Linked DNA regions of Homo sapiens: regions 1, 3 and 4 are each linked to region 2. The links are contacts of gene promoters, found by promoter capture Hi-C in blood cells and fetal thymus (Javierre and others, 2016). All regions are on one chromosome and are shown on one strand. The core of a region is centred on a gene start or on the middle of the fragment in contact, and the rest is flanking DNA. Distances in the headings are between cores, read along the strand shown. Region 1 overlaps RNF40 (ring finger protein 40). Region 2 holds the start of PYCARD (PYD and CARD domain containing). Region 3 holds the start of ARMC5 (armadillo repeat containing 5). Region 4 overlaps FBXL19 (F-box and leucine rich repeat protein 19).

The links. The method cuts DNA at HindIII sites, captures the fragments that hold promoters and counts their contacts. A CHiCAGO score of 5 or more calls a contact.
Region 1: a contact is called between a fragment that was not itself captured here and the fragment with the promoter of PYCARD in region 2, in 1 of 17 cell types (total CD8 T cells). The highest score is 6.0, in total CD8 T cells.
Region 3: a contact is called between a fragment that was not itself captured here and the fragment with the promoter of PYCARD in region 2, in 17 of 17 cell types (M0 macrophages, endothelial precursors, M1 macrophages and 14 more). The highest score is 29.9, in M0 macrophages.
Region 4: a fragment that was not itself captured here is called in contact with the fragment with the promoter of PYCARD in region 2 in 7 of 17 cell types (monocytes, M0 macrophages, M1 macrophages and 4 more); the score reaches 9.0 in monocytes.

What each region holds. Positions count from the first base shown.
Region 1 is chr16:30,764,235-30,772,023 of GRCh38, reverse strand. It overlaps RNF40 (ring finger protein 40), which reads right to left. Exons shown (of 20, transcript NM_014771.4): 5 at 7,639-7,789; 6 at 6,965-7,086; 7 at 6,697-6,843; 8 at 6,525-6,599; 9 at 5,742-5,861; 10 at 5,466-5,645; 11 at 5,148-5,283; 12 at 4,009-4,130; 13 at 3,494-3,921; 14 at 3,288-3,405; 15 at 3,037-3,186; 16 at 2,626-2,838; 17 at 2,424-2,549; 18 at 51-191. Among named protein-coding and RNA genes, the nearest start is that of RNF40, 5.8 kb to the right of the region's middle. RefSeq lists a silencer at 2,581-2,777 and enhancers at 7,246-7,746, 7,747-7,789. The HindIII fragment of the contact is 4,024 bases long and covers 4,041-7,789 here.
Region 2 is chr16:31,198,640-31,206,598 of GRCh38, reverse strand. PYCARD (PYD and CARD domain containing) reads left to right here and starts at 3,839. Exons shown (of 3, transcript NM_013258.5): 1 at 3,839-4,182; 2 at 4,396-4,452; 3 at 4,758-5,113. The coding sequence starts at 3,909. The coding sequence ends at 5,014. It overlaps PYCARD-AS1 (PYCARD antisense RNA 1), which reads right to left and starts at 4,714. Exons shown (of 2, transcript NR_102400.1): 1 at 4,613-4,714; 2 at 3,147-4,139. RefSeq lists a silencer at 3,489-3,848 and enhancers at 3,959-4,188, 4,378-5,008. The HindIII fragment of the contact is 5,508 bases long and covers 2,659-7,959 here.
Region 3 is chr16:31,454,741-31,462,207 of GRCh38, reverse strand. ARMC5 (armadillo repeat containing 5) reads right to left here and starts at 2,707. Exons shown (of 6, transcript NM_001105247.2): 1 at 2,209-2,707; 2 at 179-286; 3 at 1-77. The coding sequence starts at 2,683. RefSeq lists a silencer at 2,159-2,508 and enhancers at 2,699-3,038, 3,037-3,577, 4,225-4,793. The HindIII fragment of the contact is 2,362 bases long and covers 1,370-3,731 here.
Region 4 is chr16:30,934,829-30,942,272 of GRCh38, reverse strand. FBXL19 (F-box and leucine rich repeat protein 19) reads right to left here. Exons shown (of 11, transcript NM_001382779.1): 8 at 1-157. Among named protein-coding and RNA genes, the nearest start is that of ORAI3, 11 kb to the left of the region's middle. RefSeq lists a silencer at 134-263 and an enhancer at 6,851-7,145. The HindIII fragment of the contact is 714 bases long and covers 1,124-1,837 here.

The DNA of each region.
Region 1 (7,789 bases), core at 4,803-7,302, 440 kb after region 2:
GGTCCGTGACCGTGGACCACCCTGGCCTGGCCCCTCACCCCTGCACACACCTGAGCCCTCTTGAGGTTGAAGCTCTCTTTCTCACGAGCAGCCCGGCTCTCTGCCAGGCAGGGCTGGATCTCCCGCAGCCGAGTCTGCACGTGCTCCAGCTGCACCTTCAGGTCCTCGGCCAGCTGGGCGGCTTCTACAGCCTGAGTAGGGTGGAACAGGAAGGAGGCACTGGTCTGAGCCTGGTGACTCAGGCATGTGGAGTCACGGCCCACCAATGCTTCTGTCCAGGGCCCCAGTGACACCTGCCCTGGAGCTGCTCCTGCCTCCTGAGCCCTAAGCCCTCCCCTCCTGTTCTCCCTCTCCAGTTCCTCCCGTGTGATGCTGTTTTTTGGGGTTTCTTTGTTTTTTGTTTTTTTGAGACGGAGTCTTACTCTGTCCCCCACGCTGGAGTCCAGTGACACGATCTCAGCTCACTGCAACCTCCGACTCCTGGGTTCACACCATTCTCCTGCCTCAGCCTCCCGAGTAGCTGGGACTATAGGCGCCCACCACCACACCCAGCTAATTTTTTGTATTTTTAGTAGAGATGGGGTTTCACCGTGTTAGCCAGGATGGTCTAGATCTCCTGACCTCATGATCTGCCCGCCTCGGCCTCCCAAAGTGCTGGGATTACAGTCGTGAGCCACCACGCCTGGCCTGCTGTCTGGTTTTTGAGCTTTCACAAGGCTCTCCTCTCTGCTCCCCTCAACTTCCCCACCACACATGCAGCTCCCCTGGGCCTCAGCTCAAGTGTCACCTCCTAAAAGGCTCCCCTATTTTTCTTTGACAGCACCTCAGATTCCTGCACAAGGCTTACTGTGACATGCACTATTTTATTTGGGGGATTACTGGCCTGCTCTGCCTGCCAAGACCTGAAGTTCCAGCTTTGACTGGAAGGCAGGGACCTTCTTGTTCCCAATGTCTCCACAGCAATCAGCGCAAGGCCTAGTACATAGCAGGGATGTAAAATATGCTGCTTAAATGGGCCAAGCACAGTGGCTCACACTTGTAATCCCAACACTTTGGGAGGCCAAGGCGGGCAAATCACGATGTCAGGAGTTTGAGACCAGCCTGGCAAACACAGTGAAACCCCGTCTCTACTAAAAATACAAAAATTAGCTGGGCGAGGTGGCAGGCTCCTGTAGTCCCAGCTACTCGGGACACTAAGGCAGAAGAATCGCTTGAACCTGGGAGGCGGAGGTTGCAGTGAACTGAGACCGAGCCACTGTACTCCAGCCTGGGCAACAGAGCTAGACTCCGTCTAAAAAAAACAACAACAAAAAAACCACAAACATACTGCTTAAATGAATGAACTAACTGGAGAAGAAAACAGCTTCAGAGGAAATGGAAATCAATGTTAATCTTAAGCCTTTAGCCAAAGCTAGACATTTCTTCTATTTAATACAACTATGTGACAAAGAACATCATCCCCACTTTACAGTTCACCAGCGAGTGGTTAGAAGGTAGAGCCTGGAGTCAAGGAGGCTTGGACCCAAATATTAGGGCCACTCCCTCTTGAGCAGAACAATCCACCTCCCTGAGCCTCAGTTTCCTTATTTATAAAACGAGGCTAAAAACAAAATCCAGCCAGGTGCAGTGGCTCACGCTGTAACCCCAGCACTTTGGGAGGCCAATGTGGGTGGATCACAAGGTCAGGAGTTCGATACCAGCCTGGTCAACATGGCGAAACCCTGTCTCTACTAAAAAAAAATACAAAAATTAGCCAGGCGTGGTGGTGCGCGCCTGTAATCCCAGCTACTTGAGAGGCTGAGGTTGGGAGAGTTGCTTGAACCTGGGAGGCGGAGGTTGCAGTGAGCCGAGATCGCACCACTGCACTCCAGCCCGGGCGACAGAACAAGACTCCAACTCAAAAATCTTTTGTTTTTTTTCCCTAGGGACAGAGTCTCGCTCTTGTCACCCAGACTGCAGTGCAGTGCGATCATAGCTCACTGCAGCCTCAACCTCCTGGGTTCAAGTGATCCTCTCACCTGTCAGCCTGCTCGAGAAGCTGGGACTACAGGCGTGCACCAGCACACCCAGCTAATTTTAAAATTTTTTTGTAGAGATGGGGTCTCACTATGTTGCCCAGGCTGGTCTCCAACTCCTGGCCTCAAGCAAACCTCCCGCCTCTGTTTCCCAAAGTGTTGGGATCACAGACGTGAGCCACCACGCCCGTAAACACCATCTTGATAGGATTAGTGAGACTGAAATGTGACCAAGCATGTCAAGTACTCAGCATGTGGTCTGGCACATGTAAATGTTCAATATGTGTGAGCTGTTCTGTGACAGCCTGGCTTCACCTCAGGCTATTGCATCGGGTGCTCTGAGCAGAACCGGAAGGTGAGGAGGTGAGCCAGCAGCCCAAGCTGTGTGTCCCCCTGGCCCAGCCTCACCTTCCGCTTGTTGAGCTCCAGGGCTTGGCTGCGCAGCGTCAGCTCCTTCTCCACACCCCCGAGGCTGCCCTGCAAGGCTCGCTCCTTCTCCTCTAGCTTCTGCACAGTCAGCAGCTGGGCATCCACCTAAGGACCAGAGGAGGACTCAGGGCCATGACCCCCACCTCTCCAGCTCCAGTCTGCAAGCTGGCGGCGGCCATACCTGGGACTTGAGGCCAAGGACCTGCTCGCCCAACTCATCCTTCTCCTCCCGCAGCAGCTTGTGAATCTGGTTGGCCTTGATCCGCTCTGACATTAGCTTAAAGTTGGCATCATCCTTTTCCCGCAACTGCTGTAGCAGCCGCCCGTTCTGTTCCTGCATGTCCTCAAAAGCCTGACCTGTCACATCCATCTCTGAGAGCAGAGCCTCCTCCTCCTGCAGCAAGTGGGCAGAGACAAGATGGAACGTGGGAAGTGGACAGGATGGCTGTGGGGGAACCATGGGAAAACGCAGCGAAGCAAAGAACTACAGAGGGGACCCAGATCATCAAGGTCCTGCAGGCACTAGAGGCACCAAACAGGGTATGAAGGGAACTCCCTGCGCTCCGACGCGAGGGCACCACATGGGCCGCACCTGCTTGGTGGCACCCAGCTTGCGCTGCAGGTGTTCTATCTGCTCCTCTGCCTGCCGAATGCGCCGCAGGGCATCCTCATCCGCGATCTTCTTGCTCTCCCTTCGATCCCTCTCCTCCAATTCCCGGATGCGGCTCCGCAGCTCATCAACCTATAGCACAGGGAAGAAGAAACTCTCTTGACACTGCTTCCTGCTGAGCTAGGACTCTGCTCTGCCTTTCTGAATGCCCCACAAGCCCCAGCTGCCCTCACCTCGGCCTTAGCCTTGCGTTCCGCTGCCATGAGCTGCACCTTATCCCGCTGCTCCTTGGGCGCTGACTTGTACATATCCAGCAGCAGTTTCATCTCCTTCTGGCTCTCCTGGGCCTTCCTGGCAAGAAGGTACAGGAGGAAGTCTTAGTGAGTGGGACTGGAGGCCACCTGGCAGGGTCAGGAAGGAGACAGGAACAGAGCCTCACTTGAGCTCTGCTCGGAGACCCTTGAGGAGTTCTGATTCCTTCCGCTTGGTTTCTTCCACCTTGGCCTTCTCCCGATCAGCCCTTGAGAGAGCGGAGGCTACAGGTGGAGGTCCTAGGCTGGGACCTTCCCGTTCCCGAAGCTCCCGCTTGGGCCTGGCCTCAGGTTCTCGGCCCCGGGAGGAAGGGCCCTGGGCCCCAGGGGTTATACCCTGGAAGTCCTCTTCAGAGGGGACCAGCTCCTCCTTCTTCACTGAAGTGGTAGTAGTGGTGGTGCCAGGCACTGGAGCCATCTCCTTTCTGTTGTCGGGGGTACTGACAGGGCCTGGCCCACCCTCCTCTTTCCCTGGGGCTGGGGCACTGACGCCAGAATCCTCTGGGTGGCCCAGGTTGGGGGTGGAGTGGGCAGAGCCACTGGCCTGGGCCCGGAGCTGCAAAGGCAGAGAGGAAGAGGGATGAAGTCAGATGGTGTTCACTGGAGTCTAGCCAAACCTTTTCCCAGGCAGGCCCCTTCTCACCTTGCCAATCTCAGCTTGTACTTCTCGAAGCTTCCGCTTGTATCGCTGGGCGTCCCCTTTTAGCTGGTGGTTGTGGTTTTGAAGACTACTAATCAGGTGGCGCATCTCACGGTTGATGGGCCCTGGAGGAGCATCAGCAAGTAAAGGTGTCAGAACCAGTTCCTGGGTTAGGACTCCAACCCCTCAGTGGGGTAAGAGGCTATGCCATCACTCCCACTGTGCAGGAGGGGAACATTGCGGCCTCAACGGAGCATGAACTCATCAAAGTAAATAATGCTGACTTCAAGGAAACTCACCCAAAATTAACTTGACACTGCCTATTCATACGATTTTTGCTAATATAGAATATGTGGGGTTTTTTGTTTTTTTTTTAAATAGAAACAGTGTCTCACTTTGTTGCCCTGGCTGGTCTCAAATTCCTGGCCTCAAGTGATCCTCCCACCTTGGCCTCCGAAAGTGCTGGGATTACAGACATGAATCACCACACCTGGCCTAGGTTTTTTCTTTTTTTTTTTTATACATCCAATTCCCTTTAATAGAGAAGGTAACTGTAACATTCACAAAAGTTAGTTAACTTCTTCTAGATTCTTAAATATCACCTTCCCAGTACATTTCCCTGGCCTCCTATTCAAAATTGCAACACCCTTTCTCCTGATACTTCCTATCTTCCTTTTCTGCTTTACTTTCCTATCTGTCAAGAGCTAACACATTTTCCATTTTTCTTCTACTAGTTCGTCTTCCTCTAGTCTGTCTTCTATCAGAATGTTGCTCCACATGGCAGGAATTCTGTTTTGTTCACTGGCATAACCCCAAACCCTAGAACAGAGCCTGGCTCAGAGGTGGCATTTGATAAATCTTTGTAACACAAGTATCTGAGAGACAGAGACGTCATCAGACCAGAAGAATGAGGACAGGGCTGACAGCTCAGACTCTGCATGTGCCTGCTCCATCAGCCACCCCAGCTGGCGGACCCTCACTGTGCCTGGGAGCCAAGCAGTGCAGGCCCTGTTTTGCATAGGAAGCCGAGGCTCTGTGAAAAAAAAGGCCTTAGCCTCTTGCATCTGGATAAGCAGCAGCCCCACACCAGGGCCCAGCACTCCCAGATAAGGCCCCACCTCCGCCCTATCCTCACCACATACCCGCCTGCTCGTTGGCCGCCAGATTCTGCTCAAACTCGATGCGCAGCATCTCATACTCCTTGCGTACCTGGGCCAGCGTGTCCTCCAGCTGAATGACCTCTGTGCGTAGCTTCTTCTGCAGCCCCAGCTCGTCGCTCTGTGGGTTGATGTGTTAAGGACCCACACAGCCCCTCGGTCCCACCTCAGGACTCAGTATCTTAGGAAGAATCTATTCCCCAGGGACCCCTGGCTGGCACACAGGGCCTCGGAAGGCACAAACACGTCAACACTAACGGTTTGGCCCTTAGCCCAGCCCTAACGCCTGTTCCAGGGCCATACCTCCATGTGCTCGATGTGTCGCAGGTGGGAGTTCTTTGTGGCCAGCAGCAGGCCCCGAGCCTCGTCTAGCTGGGTCTTCACTTGCAGAGACTCGTTGTAGAGCAGTGAGAATTGGGCCTGCAGCATGCGGTACTCCCCCGTCTCCCGCACTACCTCCTCAGGAAGGCTCCGCAGGGCCACCTGGGGCAGGGATGCCCAAATGGGATCAGCAACAGGATTCAGGGCTCAGTCCCTCCCTTACAGGCCCAGGACCTCTCAGCCCCTACAGCAGCCCACCTTGAGGCGCTCATTGGTCCGCACAGCCCCCTGAAGTTCGGCCTGCAGTTTCTCCAGCTCTGCCATACGGCTGTTGGCCAGTTCCTGGTTTTCCTCTAACTCTGCATTCAGCATCTCAAACTAAGGAGTGGGAGGCAGGGCCATGGGAGGCAGGGCCAGACGTGGCAGCAGGCCTCCCTTACATCCCCAGCATACACTCCACCCCAAGCACCCCGTGCAGGGCAATGATCGATTCTGACACCCCAAACCAAGTACTTTCCTAAGGGCTCCCAGAAAAATGGGAGAAAATTCAATACTGCATGGTCGGTGCTGGGAACTAAGGCTCTTAACTGATGGGGAGTCACGGAAGGCATTCCAGAAAGGCCTAAAGTGCTAATAAAGGGAAAAAGGGCACAGTGACCACCAGATGCCAACTGACTCCAACTCACTCTTAGCTCTCTCTTCTGTGCTTTATCTTTGTGGTACTCATAACACACTGATATGCTATTTTACTGATTTCTTGTCTGTTACCACAAGTAGAACCTAAAGATATATTCTTTTATTTATTTCTTGTCTGGTCCATGAAAGTTTTGACCTCTATTTTGTTCTCGCCAATATGCCTAGTGCCTAGCACTAAGTGTTCAAAAATCTACTCAACAAGTATATGAATGCATGAAAAAAAGAGCAGCAGGAGTGACCAGGAAGGGCCTCAGAGATGGATGTTTGTCCTTTGTCCTGAGGGGAATTTCAAGAGTGCAACAGAGAAGAGGTTGTGAGAAGGGGTGGGAGGAAAACGCCGCTCACCTTCTGCATGCTGAGTGTGATCTGGCCCCCCTGGAAGCCTGAGGAGCTCCCAGATACATAGTAGCCAGAGTTAAGCTGTGGAGAGAAAACAGACAGGCAATGGATGTAGAGGGGAGGAGCTAAGGCCCAAGGGCCCAGCCTTGCCTCACCTGCCCCAGCACCCCTGCCCCACCTGCTCTAAGGCCTCTGCCAGGTGCTTATTGAGCTTTTGCTCTCGCTTCCGCAGCTTCTCGATGTCCCACTGCAAGTCCTCCACTGTTGTCTCCATCTCCAGCACCTTGGTCTCTGCCGATGTCACTTTATCCTGGAGCTCGGAGTACTGGGAACAATGAGGGAGCAGATGCTTGGATGGGGGACTTGGTTCCTGAGGTCCCTGAGTGCCCATCTAACCCAAATCCTGCCTGATTCTAATCACACCCCCAAAGCCCCCGGCTCCTCACCTCCAATGAGATGCGGTGGTGTTTCTCCTGCAGCTGAGTGGCCAAGTCCTGCAGTCGCCGGTTCTCACGGCCCAGCTCTCGGGTGTGTGCCTGAGCCGCCTCACTGAGGGGCTCACTGTCCCCTGGGAAGGCAGGGCCCAGGTAAGAGCCCAGCTCAGGGCAATGGGGCAAACAACTAACTCATTCTGGAGTCTGCTATATACCCAGTGTGATCCACCAGCTGTCTTGCCCATTTCTCATGACAAAGCCAGGAGTCTTTATCCCCACTGCACAGAGAAGGAAACCAGCTCAGAGAGGGGAGCCACTTTCCCAGCATGTCCAGGTGAGGGTGGCAGAACTAAGGTGGGAGAAGCCTGTCAACCTACAAGGCCTGAGCCCTTGAAGCTATGCCTTGTGGATCCGCAACCCACACCAAGTGCTCCAGAGGGGCCTCTGGCCAGGAGCCTCTACCGGCATCAACAACTCCTCCAACCCATCTCTCTAGCATTCAATCCCGGAATCAAAGTTGGAACCCCCATCTACAGCCTAACCTACCTCTTCCAAGAACATGGCTGATTTATTCCTTGGGAAATTCTGGCCGCCCTTGGACTCGGGCATTAGGGGAATCAGGAAGGGGTGCCATCAAGATGCAGGTGGGGATGGACACCCCTTCAGTATGGGCACAAAGAACCCACCTCGGCTGTACACTCGCTGACAGAGTTCCTCCACCCGGCGCTGTAGGCGGTCTGAGGCCTCTACCACACGAGACACAGCTGCCTTGGAGAACTCCATTCGGCCTTGCAGCTCCAGCTCCACCTCCTCACTGCTGCTGGCACCCAGTGCCAC
Region 2 (7,959 bases), core at 2,590-5,089:
ATCAGCTATTTGGGAGGCTGACATGGGAGGATCGTTTAAGCCCAGGAGGTCAAGGCTGTAGTGAGCTATAATCATGCCATTGCTCTCCAGCCTGGGCAACAGACTGAGACCGTATCTCAAAAAAATAAAAAAAAAAAGAGAGAGAAAAAGAAAAAGAAAAGAAAGGAAGGAAGGGAAGAAGGGAGGGAGGGAGGGAAAGGAAAGAAAGAGAGGAAAGAAGAAAGAAAGAAAGAAGAAGGAGGAAGGAAGGGAGGGAGGGAGGGAGCAAGGGAGGGAGAGGGGGAGGGAGGGAGGGAGAGAAGGAAGGAAGAAAGGAAGGAAAAGAAAAGAAAGAGAGGAAAGAAGAAAGAGAGGAAGGAAGGAAAGGGAAGGGAGGAAGGAAGGAAAGAAGGAAAGGAGGGGGGAGGAAGGGAGAGAAGGAAGGAAGGAAAGAAAGAGAAAGAAAGAGACAGAAAGGAAGGAAAGAAGGAAGGAAGGAAGGAAATAAAGAGGAGATAGAAAGAGAGAAAGAAGAAAGAAAGAGGAGGGGAGGGAGGGAGGAAGGGAGGGAAGGAAGGAAGGAAGAAAGGGAAAGAAAGAAAGAAAGGAAAGAAAGAAAAAGAAAGAAAGAAAGAAAGAAAGAAAGAAAGAAAGAAAGAAAGAAAGAAAGAAAAGAGAGGCCGAGTGTGGTGGCTCATGCCTGTAATCCCACTAATTTGGGAGGCAGAGGCGAGCAGATCACAAGGTCAAGAGATCAAGACCATCCTGGCCAGCATGGTGAAACCTCATCTCTACTAAAAATACAAAAATTAGCTGGGTGTGGTGGTGCGCACCTGTAGTCCCAGCTACTTGGGAGGCTGAGGCAGGAGAATCGCTTGAACCTGGGAGGTGGAGGTTGCAGTGAGCCGAGATCACGCCACTGCACTCCAGCCTGGCAACAGAGCAACACTCCATCTCAAAAAAAAAAAACAGAGAGAGAGAGAAAGGGAAAAACAAAAGAAGGAAAGGAGGGAAGGAAGGAAGGAGGCATGCGAAGGACTGCAGACTAAAGGCTTATTTCTATTATTTATTAGAAGAGGTGACTCCTAGGTTGGGTGTGTTGGCTCACACCTGTAATCCCAGTGCTTTGGGAGGCCAAGGCAGGAGGATCGCTGAGCCCAGGTGTTGGAGATCAGCCTGGGCAACATAGCCAGACCCCATCTCTACAAAAAAATTAAAAAATTAGCTGAGCATGGTGGCATGCACCCGTAGTTCCAGCTACACAGGAAGCTGAGGTGGGAGGATCGCTGGAACCCAGGAGTTCGAGGCTACAATGAGCTATGATTGCGCACTGCACTCCAGCTTGGGCAACAGAGTGAGACCTCATCTCTAAAATAAAAGCAGAAAAGAAAAAGTGATGCCTGATGAACGTCAGAAGACAGGCAGGAACTCACCAAGTAGACCAGGAGGAAAAAGAGGCCAAGCAGAGAGCAGCTCCCACAGGGGCGGAGGTTCACGGATCAGCAAGCTGGAAGGGGCAGCTGAAGAGGTTGGCAAGGACCTTGAAGGCCAAGCCAAGGGCTTGGGACTTGAGTTTGAGGGCACTGGGGAGTCATGAGGGGGTCTCTGAGCCAGGCAGGTGCAGGATCATATGTGTGGGTTAGGAAGATGTATCCTTCTGGCCACAGTGCACAAAAGGAAATGGAGATTCTGGAAGGATAAAGGCCAGTGAGAAGGCATGATAAACATCCATGAGCCAAGGAACACTGGCTGTTGGACCACAAGTGCCACCCATGGTGAGGATGTTGGCACACAGCTTACCCCAGCCCACATGCTACAAGGATGGGGAGCAAGGCCAGGCACAGTGGCTCACACCTGTAATCCTAGCATGTTGGGAGGCCAAGGCAGGAGGACTGCTGAGCCCAGGACTTTGAGACCAGCCTGAACAACATAGGGAAACCCATTCTCTATAAAAATTTTAAAAACTAGCCAGGCATGGTGGCACAACTGTAGTCGCAGGTACTCAGGAGGCCGAGGTGAGAGAATTGCTTGAGCCCAGGAGTTCAAGGCTGCAGTGAGCCACAATCCCTCCGGTGTACTCCAGCCTGGGCAACAGAGTGAGGTCCTGTCTTCAAAAGAAAAAACAAACAACAACAACAACAACAACAAAAAGGCTTTCAGCAGGGTAGCAGAGCACTGCTCCCCATCGTGGTTTTTGTTTGTTTGTTTTTGTTCCTGTTTTGAGATGGAGTTTCGCTCTTGTTGCCCAGGCTGAAGTGCAATGGTGTGATCTCAGCTCACTGCAACCTCCACCTCACGGGTTCAGGCGATTCTCCTGCCTCAGCCTCCCCAGTAGCTGGGATTACAGGCACCTGCCACCACGCCCGGCTAATTTTTGTATTTTTAGTAGAGATGGGGTTTCACTCTGTTGGCCAGGCTGGTCTCAAACTCCTGATCACCCACCTCGCCCTCCCAAAATGCTGGGATTACAGGCATGAGTCACCGTGCCCGGCCCATCCTGGTTGTCTTGTTTGTTTTTGAGACAAGGTGTCTGTTGCCGAGTGGCACAGAGTGCAGTGGCACAATCATAGCTCACTGCACCCTCAACCTCCTGGGCTCAAGTGACCCTCCGGCCTCAGCCTCCCAAAGCACTGAGATGACATGCGTGATGAGCCACTGCACCCAGCCATGCTGGAAGCTTTTGAATACAACATGCTGCAGGCATCACAGCCTCATTCATTCCTTCACTCAGCAAATCTTTACTCAGCACCTAATGTGTTCCAGATACATTTTTTTTTTTCAGATGGAATCTAGCTCTGTCACCCAGGCTGGAGTGCAGTGGTGCAATCTTGGCTCACTGTAGCCTCTGCCTCCGAGGTTCAAGCGATTCTCATGCCTCAGCCGCCCTAGTAGCTAGGATTACAGGCGCCCTCCACCACACACAGCTATTTCCAGGTACATTCTTGACGCTAGGAATTCAGCAAAGAATAAGACAGTTAAGGTCTCCGATGCTCATAGGCCTCACATTTTAGAGAGGGATGAATGTCCAATAAGCATATAAACGTATAATATGTCAGGGTCGTATGACTACAAGGAACAGTGATTGTTACAACCCAGATGAGAGGGAAAAATAAAGGATTCCAAATATCCCCCTTGGGAAGTAGAGTCAGGATTCAAACAAAGAACTGTATGGCTTCAAGTTCATGGTCTTTAATCTCCTGGAGGCTGTCTCTCTTTCTTTTTTCTTTTTTTTAATCAGTGTTGGGATCAAATTCTGGCTCCCCTAGGAAGCATCTGGCAAGGTTTCGGGAGCCATCGGGTTGGCCATGTTATGCTGGAATATTTATAAGCACCGGAGGGTTATCCCCATGTCGTAGAAAATGAAACTGAAGCTCAGAGAGATTTGCACTCTCTGCCCTTTTGTACAACTCATTTTTCCCCAGTATGTGGAATTGAGGGAGCTTCACGCTTCTAGCTGTCATGATTCCAAGATTCTACGACATGTGGGAGAGGATCCTAAGGTTCGGGGAACCGCGGAGGTTTCGGGGTTCTAGAAATCCGAGGTTCTAAGCCTAGGTGCTCCAATAAACCCAGTGAGAGCCAGCCCAGGTTTCCGGTCTGTACCCGCTGGTGCAAGCCCAGAGACAAGCAGGCGCCACCCATGAGCCCCTCTGCGGCCCCCTCCCGGGTCCCACCTCGCAGGCCAGCTGGAGGGCGCGATCCTGGCGTCCCCCGACGGCCTGGGGCCCCAATCCAGAGGCCTGGGTGGGAGGGGACCAAGGGTGTAGTAAGGAAGCGCCTTTTGCTGGAGGGCAACGGACCGGGGCGGGGAGTCGGGAGACCAGAGTGGGAGGAAGGCGGGGAGTCCAGGTTCCGCCCCGGAGCCGACTTCCTCCTGGTCGGCGGCTGCAGCGGGGTGAGCGGCGGCAGCGGCCGGGGATCCTGGAGCCATGGGGCGCGCGCGCGACGCCATCCTGGATGCGCTGGAGAACCTGACCGCCGAGGAGCTCAAGAAGTTCAAGCTGAAGCTGCTGTCGGTGCCGCTGCGCGAGGGCTACGGGCGCATCCCGCGGGGCGCGCTGCTGTCCATGGACGCCTTGGACCTCACCGACAAGCTGGTCAGCTTCTACCTGGAGACCTACGGCGCCGAGCTCACCGCTAACGTGCTGCGCGACATGGGCCTGCAGGAGATGGCCGGGCAGCTGCAGGCGGCCACGCACCAGGGTGAGCCGCCCCCGTTCCCCTCCACCCCGTCTTTCCCCTCCACCCACACCAGCGCTTACCCCGCGGGCTCTTCCGCTTTCTGTTCCTCCTACCCCTAAACAAAGCTGCTCTACCGGAAAGGAGGCTCCCCACGCTTGGCCTACCGACCAACGGGACCCCGGCCCCACGGCGGGAAGGGAAGGGAAGGGGATCACTTGGCCCATATCCTTCCAGGCTCTGGAGCCGCGCCAGCTGGGATCCAGGCCCCTCCTCAGTCGGCAGCCAAGCCAGGTGAGGCCTCCACACCCAGCCCGGCCCCACCGCACTCCTGCACAGCCTGCATCTGTGCTCCCGCAACCAGGGCAGGGCAGGGCAGGGCAGGCACGGCTTGGCAACCCTGCGCACCCCACCCACCAACCCACACCCTGCGGGGGAAGGGAGACAATATTACCCTCATCCCACTGCATGTGGGGTCCTGGTGGCCGCCCCCTGGAGCCCTGCCCCTAGGCTTGCAGAGGAATTCCTGAAGAACTCAAGTTCAGCAGGGACAGGCCCCACACCCTGGCTGCTGGCTCATGTTCTCCTCCCACCCCCAGGCCTGCACTTTATAGACCAGCACCGGGCTGCGCTTATCGCGAGGGTCACAAACGTTGAGTGGCTGCTGGATGCTCTGTACGGGAAGGTCCTGACGGATGAGCAGTACCAGGCAGTGCGGGCCGAGCCCACCAACCCAAGCAAGATGCGGAAGCTCTTCAGTTTCACACCAGCCTGGAACTGGACCTGCAAGGACTTGCTCCTCCAGGCCCTAAGGGAGTCCCAGTCCTACCTGGTGGAGGACCTGGAGCGGAGCTGAGGCTCCTTCCCAGCAACACTCCGGTCAGCCCCTGGCAATCCCACCAAATCATCCTGAATCTGATCTTTTTATACACAATATACGAAAAGCCAGCTTGAACTTGTGTGTTTTCCTGCTTCTAGCCTGCTGGCATGTGCAGAGCTCAGCTATGCTTCAGAGGCCACCCAGCCTCCAGCTCCATGTCCCTAGGGTCTCTGGCACCCCAAATGCTTCCCCCATCCTTCCTGGTATCGCCATGGAATATCCCTCCTCATTCACCAGGTGGTGCTCCTCCAGTGCTCCCTAAAGGGTCTAACCTTACCATTATAGATAACAGCCTGTGACCCAGGTCCGAAGGTTAAAAGAGGCATGTACCAAAGGGCGCAAACTGGTGGGCAGCTCTGTCCAAGCCATTTAGAAACACACTAGTCTTCATAGCTCCCCTACCTTCCACATTTTCCACTGGAGAAAAATGCAGAATTAGAGAAATTTGCAGGGGGAGACACATTAGAGCATTATCTAAACATAGGACAGAAGAGCACAAGTCACCAAATTGCTCGAGGGCTCCTTCTGGTGCTGGCTCTTAACAGGCTTAAAGGCTCCCTCTGCCCCACCCCATCCCGTGGGGGAAAGGGTCATAGGTTGCACTTTGCTCAAAAAACATGCCAACCACCAAAGCAGATTTTCAGGAAATGAGTTGTGTGTGGTAGCTGCCTCTTTTCTTGATGCGATTTTTTTGGAGGGTTATTACTTATTCATTCATTTGAAAGGAACATTTAAAACTTTTTTTTTGAGATGGAATCTCGCTGTGTCACCCAGACTGGAGTGCAGTGGCGTGACCTCAGCTCACTGCAACCTCCACCTCCCAGGTTCAAGCTATTCTTGTGCCTCAGCCTCCCGAATAGCTGGGATTACAGGCCCCTGCCACCACACCTGGCTAGTTTTTGTGTTTTTAGTAGAAACAAAGTTTCACCATGTCAGCCAGGCTGGTCTGGAACTTCGGACCTCAAGTGGTCCACCCGCCTCCACCTCCCAAAGTGCTGGGGTGCTGGAATTACAGGCGTGAGCCAATGCACCCGGCCACTTTTTTCTTTTTTTTTTTTTGAGACGGAGGCTCACTCTGTCACCCAGGCTGGAGTGCAGTAGCATGATCTCAGCTCACCGCAACCTCTGCCTCCCAGGTTCAAGCAATTCTTGTGGCTCAGCCAGTCAAGTAACTGGAATTACAGGTGCTTGCCACCCCACCCGGTTAATTTTCGCATTTTTAGTAGAAACGGGATTTTGCCACGTTGCCCAGGCTGGTCTCAAACACCTGACCTCCAGTGATCCATCCACCTCAGCCGCCCAAAGTGCTGGGATTACAGGTGTGAGCCACCGGGCCCACCTTCTTGATGCAATTTTTGCCTACAAAGGGAAATATGAGTATCTCTCTCCAGGAAACTTGAGGTCTTTCCAGAGGCTGTTTGGGAAAGCAGGAATCTAGGGCTACTTCCTAAGTACACTTTACAAGCAATCCTTTCTGGCCTTGAAGAGGGAGGATTTGCAAAGCAATGGGCAGATACCAAGGAGACCCTGAATCCTATCCTTAGGAATCACCAAACAACCACTTTCCAACCTCACTGCCCCACCAGGCTTATCTCTAATTACATCTTATCTGCAACACACCTCCTACCTTGTCCTCCCTGCCTCTAGCTCCAAGAGCCTGAGAAATCCAAACTGATCATGGGAACAGACTCTCACTTTTTTTGAGACGGGATCTCATCTGTTGCTCTGGCTGGTGTGCAGTGGTGTGATCATGGTTCACTGCAGCCTCAAACCCCTGGGCTCAAGCAATCCTCCAGCCTCAGCCTCCTGAATAGCCGGGACTACAGGTGCATACCACCATGCCCAGCTGACTGTCATTTTTAACAGGACACCTAAACTCTCCTCCTAACCTGGCACTTAACCCCATGCAACCTCTCCTCTCCTCACATACCCACGATCCCACCACTATCTGCTCATACCAGGTGCCCTTGCACATGCTGACCCCTTTATCTCTGGACACCTTGACATCTTCTACCTGCCCCAGACTGCCCATACGCATGCGTTCCTCTGGGTTTCAGAGGCTCTTCCCAGTGTCTCTGTGGCAATGCAAACCATGTGCTGGTCTACCTTCACAGAAGACTCCACCACTCCCCTGCTTAAATGGACGCTTAAATGGAGACATCTTTTCAACCTCTGTACAAGTGCCTTGCATGTAGAAAGTAATATATGGCAGTTACTGTGTATCTCTAGTATCTAACAGGATTTTTTTTAAACTTCACAGGAACCTAATCATTCTCCTGACATGGGGCCATAGGTAACACATCCTTGCATGACAGACATCCTTAGAGTCACTACAAAAACCAGTGCAGGCCTGAGGGAAGGAAGTGGTTCCAAGAAAGTTTCCCTAAGATAAAACATTTCTTGGGGCTTCCTTTTTCCTTTGGGCTGTGGGAGAAAGAGTCCTACCAGAAGTCTCCTCAGATTTTAGGCATAGCATAGTGGTTAAGGACAGAAGTTCTATAGCTAAAGAATAGAGGTTCAAGTCCCTGCCCCACCTCTCACTAGCTGTGTCAGCATCCCCTCTAAAGTGGGAGTGACAGGAATCAGCTCATCCCCTAACAGCAACTGGCTCATGGCAAGTACACCTCAGAGTTAGCAATCACCTCCACTAAGACGATTCTGCTCCTAGCCCCTCAATGGCTTAGAACTGTATCTGGGAACCTGTGCTATCCCAAGAACAATCTAGAGTGCCCCTCTGGCAGCACCCCCAAACTCGTTCTGTCACTCCCAGTCCTAGTCGTGGCTCCATGGGTGTGGAAATCCCAGCCCCAGTCTGGATGGCCCCAGACAACTCCAGCATCTTGGGACACATCCCAGATAAGCTGAACGGCAGCCACTGCAAGCGGCAACATTCCTGCCAAGCCCCAGAACTGGATTTCAGA
Region 3 (7,467 bases), core at 1,301-3,800, 260 kb before region 2:
GAGGGCACGCACCACGCTCTGTAGGCACTGCGAGTCCTGGCAGGCTGTCAGGCTCTCCACAAGCAGGGGAACAGCACCTGAGGGCAGGAAAGGGGAGCACAGAGGGTGAACAAGGACAGACACTCAAGCCTTTCTTCTGCCCCAAGCCCTAGCAGACCCCAACCTCACAGCCTCTTACCAGCACAGTGGATGTCCCCACAGCTCTCAGGTTCCATGGCTAAGTTCCCCAGGGCACGGGCCGTTCGGTTCTGGATGCTGTCTGTCTTCATGCACTGAAGAATGGTCACTGCAACGACAGTTTGGGCTTGTGAGGGTTCTACCCCTTACTGTCTCTCACATCAATAACCTGGAGAATGTGGCCTGAGAGGGCCTGGAAGGCTTTCAGAAGAGGCTAATGGTCGGCAGGGCACCGTGGCTCAAGCCTGTAATCCTAGCACTTTGGGGGACCAAGGTGGGTGGGTCACTTGAGGTCAGGAGTTCAAGACCAGCCTGGCCAACGGGGCCAAACCCCATCTCTACTAAAAATACAAAAATTATCTGGGCATGGTGGTACACGCCTGTAATCCCAGCTACCCGGGAGGCTGTGGCAGGAGAATTGCTTGAACCCAGGAGGCAGAGGTTGCAGTAAGCTGAGATCGTGTCACTGCACTCCAGCCTGGATGACAGAGCAAGACTCCATCTCAAAAAAATAAAAAGAAAGAGGCTAACACTCGGGCTGGGTCTGGAGGGGTACACAGGAAGGTATTTGCCAGAAGCACGGTGGATGGGGGTGTGAGAAGGCATTTCAGGTTTGGAAGCAGCCTTTCCAAAGGCCCAGAGGTAAGATACAGTGTCTGTGAAAGGCTTCAAATGTCAGGCCAAGGGGTCAGGACTTGAATGTGAAGGCACTGGGGGCCACACAAGGGTTTTATGAAGGGGAGTGACACGATACAATCTGACATCCATAGGGAGAATGCATTATGGGGAAAGAATAGGAAGGGGGGAGTCAAAAGGCTGTCATAATAGTCCAAGCATGAAAAGACAATAGCTTGAACCAACCCAGCTACTGGCATCACACAGCACAGAGATACCAGTCTCTGGGCACACAATGGAAGTAGGAAGAGAGAGAAGCAGATAAATTCAGAAGATATTTAAGATGAAAAATAGTAGCTGAATGATGGGGGTTATTTAATAACCAAAGCTCTTGTCAAACATATATGGTCCAGATACATTTTATGTAAATTTTAAATATATTAATGCTTCCCTTTATCCGAAAAGTTAAGATGTCATCAAAACTAGCATAATTTCGTGGAAGGCAGGTAGTGACATGTAAACTGCTTTCACACATTGCCACTAGGAGGCACCAATTTAGCTGGTAAACAGAAAAGCTTATGTTTTGCTAGGATTTGTTCTTACTGTGCTGGTTTTAATTATTTTTATTTATTTTTTCCTGCTTCCTAAGCGACTACTGATTTGTTTGGTTTTCTAAGATACGAGGTCTTGTTACGTTGCCCAGGCTGGAATGCAGTGGCTATTCACAGGCAGTCATTGTTCACTGCAGCCTCAACCTCCTAGGCTCAAGGGATCCTCCCGCCTCAGCCTCCCAAATAGCTGGAACTACAGGCGCGTACCACTGCACCCAGCTTATGCTAGTTTTTAATAACTTGAAATACGTATCATGCTTAGAATATTTGCATATTCGTGCCATATTTGTACTTCGTTTTCTCCCCACTCTGATTTTTTTAGGTAGCTATTATTGCCCCATTTTACAAGGAATCCTAGCCTCGGAGGGGTTAGGTGACTTTTGCAGATCTCCCTTTCTGAACCACTACACCTTCCAGCTCATCAGTGGGGCTTCAGAACCTTGCACAGGGCCGGACACATAGTTGGGCACTGAATGTCTGCTATGAACATCATAACTGGACGGTAAGAATCATCTGAAAAAATCACCAAATAACTCTTTGGCCTCCGCTAGTCCAGCTTCGAAAGAAGTCCTCAACAACCAATTCCTAGATAATGGCTACAATTATCTGGTCTGGGAGGGCTCTCTCTCATCTATAGAGAGTGCAGTGACGTCACGGGGCACAACAGATTGAGAAACAGGAGCGATGCGCCATCACAAAGCACGTTATTCCGGGATAGGACACAAAGAACTCCAGACTGCCCGGGTCTAGAGAGCAAGGGAGTTGCAAACCTAATCTTTCTAGGAAACGGGGGCGGAGCACTTACCCAAAGGGAGTATGCCTCCGAGTCTGCGCACTTCGGTCCGGCACGCCCCTTCCGTACAGCAATCGGCTAGGATGCTGAGCGCCAAGTCCAGCGTCTTGCGCAGGCGCACTGGCGGCGTAGGACTAGACGACGACACAGCGGAGGGGGCGGGGCCCGACGCGGGGGCGGGGCTAGAAGCTCCCGACGCGGCCGACGAGGGGGCGGAGCCGGGGCCTGCCTGGGACGGGGCGGAACCCGCTGCAGCCGCTCGCCGTAGCAGCGCGAGTAGGGGGCGGAGCCCGCCGCGTGCCCGGAAGCGCTCGATTCCCCCCGCTGCCTTGATGTGGCGCGTGCGGAGGGCTAGGAGCGCGCGGCTCAGGGGTGTCTCGTTGGTCGCTGGGTCCTTTTCCCCACCCAGAGCCTCCCCGGCCGCCGCCGCGAGCTGCGCGAGGCAGAACGAGAGCGAGTCCGTGAGGGTTGGCTTCGCAGCCGCCATCTTGGCTCGGGCCTCAGACTCCGCCCCGCTTCTCGCCGCTGATCCCAGGGAGCGGAACTGGAAGACAGGGAAATCGTCGGGCACCGCCTCGCTGACGCTGTTTAGCGCCACCGCAGTGATGCAAGTCGGAAGTTGTAGTTCTCGACCCCGGAAGTCTGTCCTTGCACACGAGGCGCGGCAGTACCTTAATCGCAGCGCATCCTGGGACGTGCGGGCGGTGCATGAGGGAGATGTGGTCCGCGTCGAGCTTCTCACGCCTACCTCGGGAAGCGCTGGAAACTCTTCCAGGGCCCTCCAGGTGGGCCAGGGCCTCCGAACAGCCCAGAAGTCCGACCACGGAGCCTTCGTGCCGTGCCCCGCCCCCGGCGTGCACTCGGCGGGGACCGCCTTTTCTCCTCTAGGCTCGCTTCGCTGCCCCCCAGCGGTGGTGCGGCCCGGCCTTGGGACGGACTCCGAGAACCCCGAGCCGGGCCGAAAGTGCGGGGTCCTGACCGCGCCGCAGACGGGGAGCCCTCGCTCGGTCAGAGGAAGAAGAGGGTTAAACCTACCGAGAACGTTCGCTGCCGCTTCCTAGAGTGACGGGCTTGTGGAATTTTCCGTTTCCGGAGCTGGACCCCGGTGTCCCGAGTGTCCTCCGCTCTGGACGTGCTCGTGAGCTCAGGAGCTGGCATCTAGGAAACGGGGAGTTCTTCACTCGCAGCGCAGTCGGCCGCGCCAGAAGAGGCGAGGGAGAATCCGGACGGGGCGGGGCGGCGGGGGAGCGGGACATTCGCGTCCCGGGGAGCCCCCAGGTCACCCCTGGATTGCGAGGTGGCTCCGCCTGAGCAGCCCTTCCTGGTGTGGTCGGGGCAGCTGCCCGCCCGGAAAATGGTCAGGCTCTAGCCCTGGGGAGGAAGAAGCCTTTGCCAAGAGCAACCGTCTACAAGCCCCAAAACCTGCGAGTGCCGGAAATGTGGACTGACCACAGCCTGCCTCCCCGGCTTCATTCACCACCAAGGCAGCCCCTCTGGTGACAAGCCTTACCGTTGTCCGGGTTATGGCAGAAGCTTCCGATGTGGCTCTGATCTGGTTAAGCACCACTGGGTACACACCGGTGAAAAGCCGTACTCCTGCCCCGAGTGTGACCATCGCTTCGGCCCTATGCCTGTGCCTAGTGTGGTAAGACTTTCAGCGTCAGCTCCAACCTGATCCAGCACCAGCGCGCTCACACCGCTAAAAGCCTTACCGCTGAGGGGACTGCGGCAAGAGTCTCAGCCTTGGCTCCACCCTGTTGCAGCACCTGCGCTCCACATGGGTGAGAAGGCCTCTAAGTGCCTTGTTTGTAGTAAGAGTTTTGTGCACAGTTGGAATCTGCTGCGGCACCAGCACAGTCACAAAGTCCGGAAACCTGATGCTTGGTGGTGAGTGTGGCCAGACCTTCGGCCACAGCTCCCACCTGCCCATCCACTAGGCGGCCCACAGCAGCACCCCTGCGTCTGCCTGCAGTGTGGCAGGGCCCTAGCGCAAAGCTCCAACCTGGGCCAGCACCAGCGGACGCACTAGGGCGGCAGCCTCTGCAAATAGCCCTGGCTTCAATTTTAGCTGAAACTTCAGCTCTGACTTTGGTTCGGACTTCAAGGAAATGGAAGGAACCAGGATCTCTAAGCAGACCCCCTTCTGCTCCCTTAGGGCTGTTGATTTTAGAGCTAATGATGGGATTCGGTTGGGGCGAGGGGGTCTCCACATCTTTTTGCCCAACCCTTTGCTAAGTCAAGGAACCCCAGTCTGGGCTGGGCATGGTGGCTCATGCCTGTAATCCCAGCACTTTGGGAGGCCAAGGTTAGCGGATCACTGGAGGCCAGGAGTTCGAGACCAGCCTGGCCAACATATTGAAACCCTGTCTCTACTAAAAAAAAAATGCTAGGCGTGTTGGCTCTCGCCTGTAATCCCAGCTACTCGGGAGGCTGAGGCAGGAGACTCACTTGAACCCCGGGAGGCGGAGGCTGCAGTGAGCGAAGATCGTGCCACTGCACTCCAGCCTGGGCGACAGAGAGTGTCTCAAAAAAATAACAAATTTAAAAATTGTTTTTAACAAAGGAGCCCCAGTCTGGAAGAATCAGAACACTAGATCTGTGATCACTGCCTTCAAAGAGCCCAGTCAGCTGAGAGGGCTTAGGTTTGTTCTTTGAAGTTACAAAGACAGAACGTCGACCAGCTGAAGGGAGAGTTTTGGAATGGCGGGAGCTATCCAGCGTGGACCCAGCTGCCTGCAGATCTGGCAGTAGCTGACACAGTCCCTTCACAGGCCTAGGGAGTGATGGGGTTAATCACACCTAGAACAACAGCTACCTCTTCCCAGAGGAATGGGACCAGAAATCAGGCAAGCCCCTGTGAGGAGTTCCATGGCAGCGCGCAGGCGGGGCATTCCTAACCTCCAGAGGGAACCATGAGGGATCCTGTGTTCTGGCAGATGGGCCAGAGAATTTGAACTTGGGACCATTGTGTGAGCCCTGGGTGTGTGAGCCCTTCAAAAGTCCTCTCAGCACGTGAGAACTATCATTATGGATGATGCTAGGGTGGTGGGGGCCCCAGAACAGACCTGTATGTTGAGTTCAGGGGTTGCTTTGTTGCATTTCTGGGCAGGGGCAAGAGGCCCAGGGTTTGTCATCTGCCCCTTCCCCTGCCTTATCCCCTTCCCTTCCAAGTTCCCCAGGCTCCTTTTCTGCCAGTCTGTCAAGAGAGGGAAGAGTGGCGAAGAGTCCTTTGTGCCTGGACATTGGGGACTGAACATGGCCCTTTTGCCTGGGCATTGCCCAAACATATATTTCTACTGGCATAACTTTGTGTATGTGAGAGCCAGGGGTAGGCTTCCCAAAGCACCTGCCTGTGCTCAGAGTAGACACCAAGCTCTGAGGCCCTTCCCTTCCCTGCTGGGGGAGGGAGTTGTCTGTTTCAAGGACCTAATGTCCACCCCTTGTGGGACAGTCCTACCATCAGTCCAGGCATCTGGTCTGCTGCCCCCAAATTTTACCATCTTTTTTTTTTTTTTTTTTTTTTTTTTTTGAGACGGAGTCTCACTCTGTTGCCCAGGCTGGAGTGCAGTGGCACGATCTCAGCTCACTGCAACCTCCGCCTCCTGGGTTAAAGTGATTCTCCTGCCTCAGCCTCCCGAGTAGCTGGGACCACAGGCTTGCGCCACGATGCCAGCCAGTGTTTGTATTTTTAGTAGAGGGTTTCACCAACCCTCTACTAAAGACCAGCCTCTAGTTGGTCAGGCTGGTCTCGAACTCCTGACCTCAAGTGATCCATCCGCCTCAGCCCCCCAAAGTGCTAGGATTACAGGCATGAGCCACCACGCCCGGTAATTTTGCCATCTTTTATCAGGCTTTCTGTGTCGAGGACGCTACCCACATAGAGTAGAACCTAAAGGGAAGGGATGTGAAGTGACCTCACCCTCAGCTTCTAGCTCATGGTGTCAAGGCTTGTGTGATCTTAGACACGTCTGCCTCTTCTGAGCCTGTTTCTTCATCTGTAAAACAGGGATGGGAGGTTGTGGTAAAGATTCCACAGCAACACTGCACACGCATGAAGTACCTGGGCCAGGGATGACTCGGCAGACCTCAGTTTCCCTCTGCCTCCTGCCTAGAGCTGTTAGCAAGCATCCATCATGCGGCTCACACAAGAGCTCCCCCCGGAGGTTACAGAAATGAAGGCAGCAGCCCCAGTCCTTGGGTAGCCTGTTTCCCCTTGAAGGAAACAGACTCAATATCAGCAACACAGAGTGAATGACGCCAGGGTGGCGAACGGGCCTTTCCTGGAGCAAATGCGGGAGGCTTCATGGAGATGACGTGTAATGAACAGCACTCATCTCAGGCTGGGAGCAGCACATGCCCCCGGCAGGGAGTCAGTGATGAGGTATGGGGTTCTTGACATCTTCCTCACCCAGGACCCTTCAGAGAGTACGAGCCAGGGTTTGAGTGAAGGGCCTGAGCCCAGCACATGCATGGTAGGCACTCAAAGAATAATTGTCATGATCAGGTCCTTTTTACACTGCTTACTAGTGGCCTTTAAGCCTCAGTTTCCTCACAGTTGCCTTGAGTGAGTGTCAAGTGTTGTAGACCTCTGCAAAATTCATAACTGCTTAAGAATATTAGGTATGGGTAGAGTAGGCTTGGAAGGAGGATTGGTTTGCAGAATCCCTTTCAGAGACCTGTAATCTAATTTCTCACATTAGGGCTAATACTCCTGGGACCCCTCTCCTCTCCAATTGCATAAAACAGGTTCTGACCAGAACAGCGAGGCAGGCCAGACCTCAGAAGCAGAGGGACGGGCTTAATCTAACAGGAGTTTATCCCATGTCCTGCATCCACTGTACCCTGTGCTGGGTTTAGAAGTAGCTTCACTGTCCAAGCTTGTGACCCAGTGCCCAAGCCCGAGATGGGAAACACATTTGTTTTGGCTGTGTGTGTGTGTGTGTGTGTGTGTGTGTGTGTGTGTGTGTGTTTTCAAACAAGCCAAGATTTTTACTTTTTGAGTTCCATTTTGTTGCCCAGGCTGGTCTCTGAAACTTCCAGGCTCAAGCAATCCCCCTGCCTCAGCCTCCCAAAATGCTGGAATTACAGGTGTGAGCTACCATGCCCATTTATTTATTTATTTATTTATTTATTTATTTTTGAGACAGAATCTCACTCTGTCATCCAGGCTGGAGTGCAGTGGTGCAATTGTGGCTCACTGTAGCCTCAACCTCCTGGGCTCAAGTGATCCTCCCACCTTAACCTCCCAAGGAGCTGGGACTACAGGCATAC
Region 4 (7,444 bases), core at 231-2,730, 260 kb after region 2:
TCGGTTCAGAAGCCACATGAGCTGCTTCTTGGAGACACCTGTCCAGCTGAGGTCCAGGGCACGGGGCTGGCGGCGAACCACACCACTGAGCATGGGCGGGGTCAGTGACTTCCGCCGGCTCAGGTCCATTCGAGGCCACAGACGCTTGTCATAGCACCTGGCGGCCATAGGGGGGAGACAGAGACCTCAGCCCTCAGCTCTCAGCAGCCCACAGTTCCCAGGCTCCCCAGCTCCAAGGGTGCACCCCAGCTCTCTTCTGGCCACACAGACAACAGGGTAGCAAGAAGCACCTGACCTCAGCCAAGAGCACTGGGATTGGAACCCAACTCCATCACTAACTGGAAATGAGACCCTGGGCAAGTCTGTTCCTCTCCCTGAGCCTCAGAAGCCTCGTTTATGATTGAAGGCAATAGCCCCCCCACTCTGCCTGCCCACAGGGCAGCTGTCAGGTCACATGGGCTCATCCCAGCTGTGGGCCTCCCAGCATAGAAAGTGTGCTGCCCAACACATACACAAATGCCACGCATGCTGCCTGATGTCATGCCAAGGGGACTGGTGTTATCCAGTCGTCTCCAGCCACCCTTGGGCTTCTTGATTCCTGACTGAGTTCTGGTGCTCATGGGTCCTTGCCTCCTTTACTCATCTCTGCTTCTGATCCACACCTGTCCCATCTTGACAGCCAGCTGCCCGCAGCTGGACTTACAGCCCTAATATCTTCCCTATTACATTACTGTGTTCCTCCAACTACAATGTAAATTCCACAAGGGCAGATTTGCGTTTTCCACTTTTTGAAAAAAAATTTTTTTTGAGACAGGGTCTCACTCTGTAACCCAGGCTGGACTCAGGCTCACCGCAGCCTCAACCTACTGGGCTCAAGCAATCCTCCCACCTCAGCCTCCTGAGTAGCTGGGACCACAGGCACATGTCACCACGCCTGGCTAATTTTTAAACAATTTTTTTGTAGAGACAGGGTCTCACTATGTTGCCTAGGCTGGTCTTGATCTCCTGGCCTCAAGCGATCCTCCTGCCTTGGCCTCCCAAAACACTGGGATTACAGGCATGAGCTACTGCACCCAGCTGCCCATTTGTAATGAATGAATCAAGCTAGTAACTACTTAAAGCTTCCACTGACCACTCTCCCCCACCTCCTCATCTACAGCATTTCATTTATTCACTCTGATTATAGAAAGCGTTATAGGTCCCAAGTATTGAAGCTACAAAGATGAACGAGTCCTAAGCAACATTAAACAGGTTTCCTAACCCGAGCACTCCACAGGCCTCAACAGACTATCTAACATGCAGTGGGCTGGGTGCAGTGGCTCACACCTGTAATCCCAGCACTTTGGGAGGCCGAGGTGGGTGGATCATGAGGTCAGGAATTCGAGAACAGCCTGGCTGTTCTACTAGTGAAACCCTGTCTCTACTAAAAGTACAAAAAATTAGCTGGGCATGGTGGCGGGCGCCTGTAATCCTAGCTACTCGGGAGGCTGAGGCAGGAGAATTACTTGAACCCGGGAGGCGGAGATTGCAGCGAGCCGAGATCGCACCACTGCACACCAGCTGGGGCAACAGTGAGAGACTCCATCTCAAAAACAAACAAACAAACAAACAAACAAAAAACATGCAGTGAACTGGAGAAGGGCCTCTCAAACGTACTTCCCCAGGAATCCTTCCCCACCTCTCCCAAGGTAATCTAGTAACATTTTGTAGTACACTGAAGTTCCTTTGGACTCAGTTTGAGAACTCTCTTCTCTGAGTTCAGTAGTTCTCAAAGGCATGTCCAGAAATGCCTCTGAGACTCAATAGACTGTGTCAGAAGCAGCAGGCCCAGGAAGCTTTTTTTTTTTTTTCTTGAGACAGTGTCTTGCTTAGTCACCCAGGCTGGGGTGCAGTACTGCGATCACAGCTCACTGCAACCTTAAACTCCTGGGCTCAAGCCATCCTCCTACCTCAGCCTCCTGAGTAGCTGGGACTACAGGCACATGCCACCACACCTGACTTTTTTTTTTTTTTTGAGACAGAGTTTCGCTCTTGTTGCCCAGGCTGGAGTGCAATGGTGTGATCTTGGCTCACTGAAACCACCATCTCCCAAGTTCAAGCGATTCTCCCGCCTCAGCCTCCAGAGTAGCTGGGATTACAGGCATGCGCCACCACGCCCGGCTAATTTTTTGTATTTTTAGTAGAGATAGGGTTTCTCCATGTTGGCCAGGCTGGTCTCGAAATCCTGACCTCAGGTGATCTGCCCACTTTGGCCTCCCATAGTGCTGGGATTACAGGCGTGAGCCACTGTGCCTGGCCTATTTTTTTATTTTTAGTAGAGACAAGGTTGTCCAGGCTGGTTTTGAACTCCTGAGCTCAAGCGATCCTTCCCTTGGCCTCCCAAGGGAAGCTTTCTCTTGCCTCCCTCCCTGCCCTCATGACTCTGAAAGGCTTTTCCTTGTAGAAGCCCTGGGCTGGGGCAGTGATTCCCAAGCTCCAGTATTTGCTGTTCACTTATCTGCGTAACATGATTTATCTTTGAATCATCTCCTCTTTGCACTTAAAACCAGTATTGTTGCCGGGCGCGGTGGCTCATGCGTGTAATCCCAGCACTTTGGGAGGCCGAGGTGGGTGGATCACTAGGTCAGGAGATCAAGACCATCCAGGCTAACACAGTGAAACCCCGTCTCTACTAAAAAAAAAATACAAAAAATTAGCTGGGCGTGGTGGAGGGCGCCTGTAGTCCCAGATACTCGGGAGGCTGAGGCAGGAGAATGGCGTGAATCTGGGAGGTGGAGCTTGCAGTGAGCCGAGATCGTGCCACTGCACTCCAGCCTGGGCGACAGAGCGAGACTCCGTCTCAAAAAAAAAACAAAAAAAAAAACCCCAGTATTGTTTCACATAAATATGTTAATCTTAAAAATAAACACAAAAGTCCAAGTGTGGTGTAATCCCAGCACTTTGGGAGGCCAAGGTGGACAGATCACGAGGTCAGGAGATTGAGACCATCCTGGCTAACACGGTGAAACCCCATCTCTACTAAAAATACAAAAAATTAGCCGGGCGTGGTGGCGGGCACCTGTAGTCCCAGCTACTTGGGAGGCTAAGGCAGGAGAATGGCATGAACCTGGGAGGCGGAGCTTGCAGTAAGCCGAGATTGCGCCACTGCACTCCAGCCTGGGTGACAGAGCGAGACTCTGTCTCAAAAATAAATAAATAAATAAATAAAACACAAAAAAGACCAGAGTTATTAAATCCTAGCCAGGTGTTGCTGTGGCTTTAGGCTACTACCTGAAGACTACTTTTGTTAAACAGGGAGATAAGTATCAGAGAAGTGTTAGAAAAAGCACCCAATAGTGGCCAGGCGCAGTGGCTCACGCCTGTAATCCCAGCACTTTGGGAGGCCGAGGCAGGCGGATCACGAGATCAGGAGATGGAGACCATCCTGGCTAATACGGTGAAACCTCGTATCTGCTAAAAATACAAAAGATTAGCCGGGCGTGGTGGCAGGCGCCTGTAGTCCCAGCTACTCAGGAGGCTGAGGCAGGAGAATGGCGTGAACCCAGGAGGCGGAGCTGGCAGTGAGCCGAGACTGCACCACTGCACTCCAGCCTGGGCGACAGAGCAAGACTCCATCTCAAAAAAGAAAAAAAGCACCCGATGGAGAGACTTCCTTCCAATGGAAAGACTTCCTTTCCAAAACTCACAGAGGGATTAAGCCATATTTTTGTGTCACTGAAAAATGCCAGACCTACTCCAGAGGCCCAGTGTGTCATTTCATTATTTTTTTCAGACAAAGTCTCACTGTCGCCCAGGCTAGAGCTCAGTGATGCAATCATAGCTCACTGCAGCCTCAAACTCCTGGGCTCAAGTGATCCCCTTGCCTCAGCCTCCCATGTGGCTGGGACCACAGGTATGCTTAGCTAATTTTTTCTTTTTTAATAGAGATGGGGGTCTCACTATGTTGCCCAAGCTTGTCTTGAACCCCTGGGCTCAAGCAATTCTCCTGCCTCAGCCTCCCAAAGTGCTGGGATTACAGGCGTGAGCCACTGGGCCCAGCCCTGGTGTGACGTTTTAGAGAAGGCTGAGGGCACAGACACCAAGGCTTCAGTCCGAACACCTTCACCCCTCTGCCACTCGCTCTCCTGTTCCCTCCTACCCTCATCCTGCTTTTCTGGCATTCTAGCCTCTCCCTCTCCTGATTCCTTCCTCTCAACTAATAAACATCTGCAAATCTCTCCAATTCAAAACATGAAAAGGAAAAAAACCAACTCATGCCCGACCCAGCTTCTACCCCTAGGTCCTGCCCCTTTGCTCTTTCTGTGAGCAAGAAAATCGGTGACATCTGCTCTATCCAAAACCTCTCTCTGCCCACTGTGACCCTGCCACGACTGCCTCCCAGCTTAACTGTCACCACTTCCTTGAAGCCACTTCCCTTCCACGGTCCACAGCTGGAAGGAAGCCCCTTTCCCTGGGGGCACCCACAGGACCCCAGTTGTGTTTCTGTATCATACTCCACAACAGCCAGGCCACACACCTGCCCACCTATAGACACAGTGCTGTCTGATGCCAACACGTTGTGGCACATGCTGTGCCTCTGCCAGAAATGCCAACCCAGAGCCTTCGTGGCTCGGCTCCAGTGCCTCCTCTTCCAGGAAGTCTCCCACACCTTCCTTGGCTACAGCTCATCAGTCCCCCTGCTCTTGTACAACCAGGACACTGGGGTTAAACCTCAGAGGGACAACCAACAGTCACTGAGGGCCCTACTGATCCCAAGTATCTGGCTTCCACTGGGCACGGAGGAGGCAAAGATGACAGGTTCCTGCCATACAGTCAGGGAGACATGGACAGTCCGCAGTAACTGAGGTGACAAGGGGCATGGTAAGAGTCACCTCAAGGACTGGGTGGGGGAGCCTCCTGGGGGGACAATGCCTGACCTGAGACTCCGAGGAAAGCAGTAGTTATTTCAGCAAGGGGAGGGGGAGGAGGGTGTGTGTTCCAGATGGGCAAGAACCTGTGTCCAGGCCCACAAGAGACAAGACGGAGAGCTCTGGAAACCCCAGGCCACAGGAACTCATCATCATAACCAGAGTCACGCTGATCACAGTGACTTCAGCACTACTAACCAGCCATCATCCAGGGTTCACTGTGTGCCAGGCACTGTCCCATGCATTAAGCACTGAACCTCACGCCAGCCCTAGGAGGTCAACATTACCATCATCATCTCCTTTCTACAGTAAAGAAAATGAGGCAAGCGTGTGCGGTGGCTCACGCCTGTTAATCCCAGCACTTTGGGAGGCCAAGGAGGGCGGATCACGAGGTCAGGAGTTCAAGACCAGCCTGGCCAACATAGTGAAACCTCGTCTCTACTAAAAATACAAAAATTAGCTGGGTGTGGTGGCACGCGCCTGCAGTCCCAGCTACTCAGGAGGCTGAGGCAGGAGAATCACTTGAACCCAGGAGGCAGAGGTTGCAGTGAGCCGAGACCACAGCATTCCACTCCAGCCTGGGTAACAGAGTCAGACTCTGCCTCAAAAAAAAAAAAAAAGGTCGGGCGCGCTGGCTCACGCCTGTAATCCCAGCACTTTGGGAGGCTGAGGCAGGTGGATCATGAGGTCAGGAGGTCGAGACCATCCTGGCTAACATGGTGAAACCCCGTCTCTACTAAAAAACAAAAAAAAAAAAAAAAAAAGAAAAAAAATTAGCCAGGCGTGGTGGCAGGCACCTGTAGTCCCAGTTACTCAGGAGGCTGAGGCAGGAGAATGGCGTGAATCCGGGAGGCGGAGCTTGCAGTGAGCCGAGATTGTCGCCAGCCTGGGTGACAGAGTGAGACTCCGTCTCAAAAAAAAAAAAAAAAATGAGGCCCAGAAAGGTTGAGAAATGTATTCAAGGTCCCACAACTACCAAGTGGTAGGTAGTAGAGGCGGGGTTCCACCTAGCCCGTCTGGGTGGAAAGCCTGAATTCTGAGGAGAGAAGAGGCAAGAGTGGAGCTGCAAAGGAGGGATGGGTGTCATGTCAAGGAGGGCTGGAATGCCAGGCCATAGACTATCATGGTCACAGAGCCCAGAGCTGAGGATGTGAGCTATGGGGATCTAAATCCCAGCTCTGCCACCTCCAGGCTTTGGGGGGCCTCAGGCAAGTCACTCGCCCTGTGTGGGCTTCCATTTCCCAAACTGTACAGTGGGGTGAAGAACAGCGCTTCCTTCAGAGGTTGCTGTGACAAGGAAGGGACACAGCTCAGGGAAGTGGTTGGTGCAGTCGGTAGGCCCAGTTCATGTCCATATGTCCAACAGGACTGCGATGGTGGGCGTCTGTTGTGAGGGCGACAGGGAGCCACAGGTGGGTTCTTTCTAAGCTGGAGAATGACACTGAGACAAGAGGCAGGGAAAGCTCTAAGAGCCAAGGTGTGCCGTCGTCCCAGAGACATGTGGCTTGATGCCAAAGTCCCCTAACCCATTCACTTCCTCCTGGACTCCAGCCACCCCGCAATGAGTCCTCTCCTACTAGGCCGACCTGCAAACCCTCAATTCCAATCCTAACCCTCCCTCTTGCAGAAGCCCCCGGGAACAGGGAGCTGGACCAGCCCTTACTGCCCTCTGAAGGCTCACGGCCCCTAGGGCTCCAAGCACTGCCAGTTCCGACCTCTTGTAGCTCTCTGGGCCCCGATGCTACCACTGCCCTCCAATCTGTCCACCTCCAGACCCTACCCGACCATGATCACCTTGTATTCCAGTCCCTTCCTTGCTGCCTTCTCTCTGTCCATGTCCTCAAAAGCCCCAACCCTCTTCCTTGCATCTCAATAACCCCTGCACGCCTTCCCTGCTGCCCTCTCTCCACTCTTCACTCTTCACTCTTAAGGGATCACTTCCCTTTCAGTTCCAAGAAAAGATGGAAGCCACCAGACAGGAAAGCCTGCAGCCTCCTGCTGTCCCCTACACACGCCTCTCCAGCGCCACCCTCTGTACATCCTTCCACACTGCATCCTGCTCTCTTGTCCTTCACTCATTCAGCGAAGATGATCTCACTGCCCACTGTCCGCCAGGTGCCATTAGACACCAGGAACACAACAGGAACAAACGAATCAAGTCCCTGCCTGGAAGCTGATGTTCTCGACTCCATTCAATCTGGCTTTGGACCCCCAACCCCCAGAGCACAGCTGAGGACACTAAGGCCTCCTGGTAGCAAAATCCAACCACCACTTCCTGGTCCTTGATCTCCCACGGCCTCTCACCAGCATCCTCCTTGGCTTACCACATTCCCTCCTGCCTCGTTCTCTACTCGGGGGCACACCTCTGGCCATGAGCTCCTCCAATTATCTGGCTAGGCTCTTGCTCTAACTCACAAGTACTGATGTATGATCTTTTGCCCTCTTCATCAAAGCTGCTTGGCTTGCTACCTACAGGCTGAGAACTCCCAAACGTGTATCTTTCTCCTGAGCATCAGACCCACACGTCCTGAGCACAC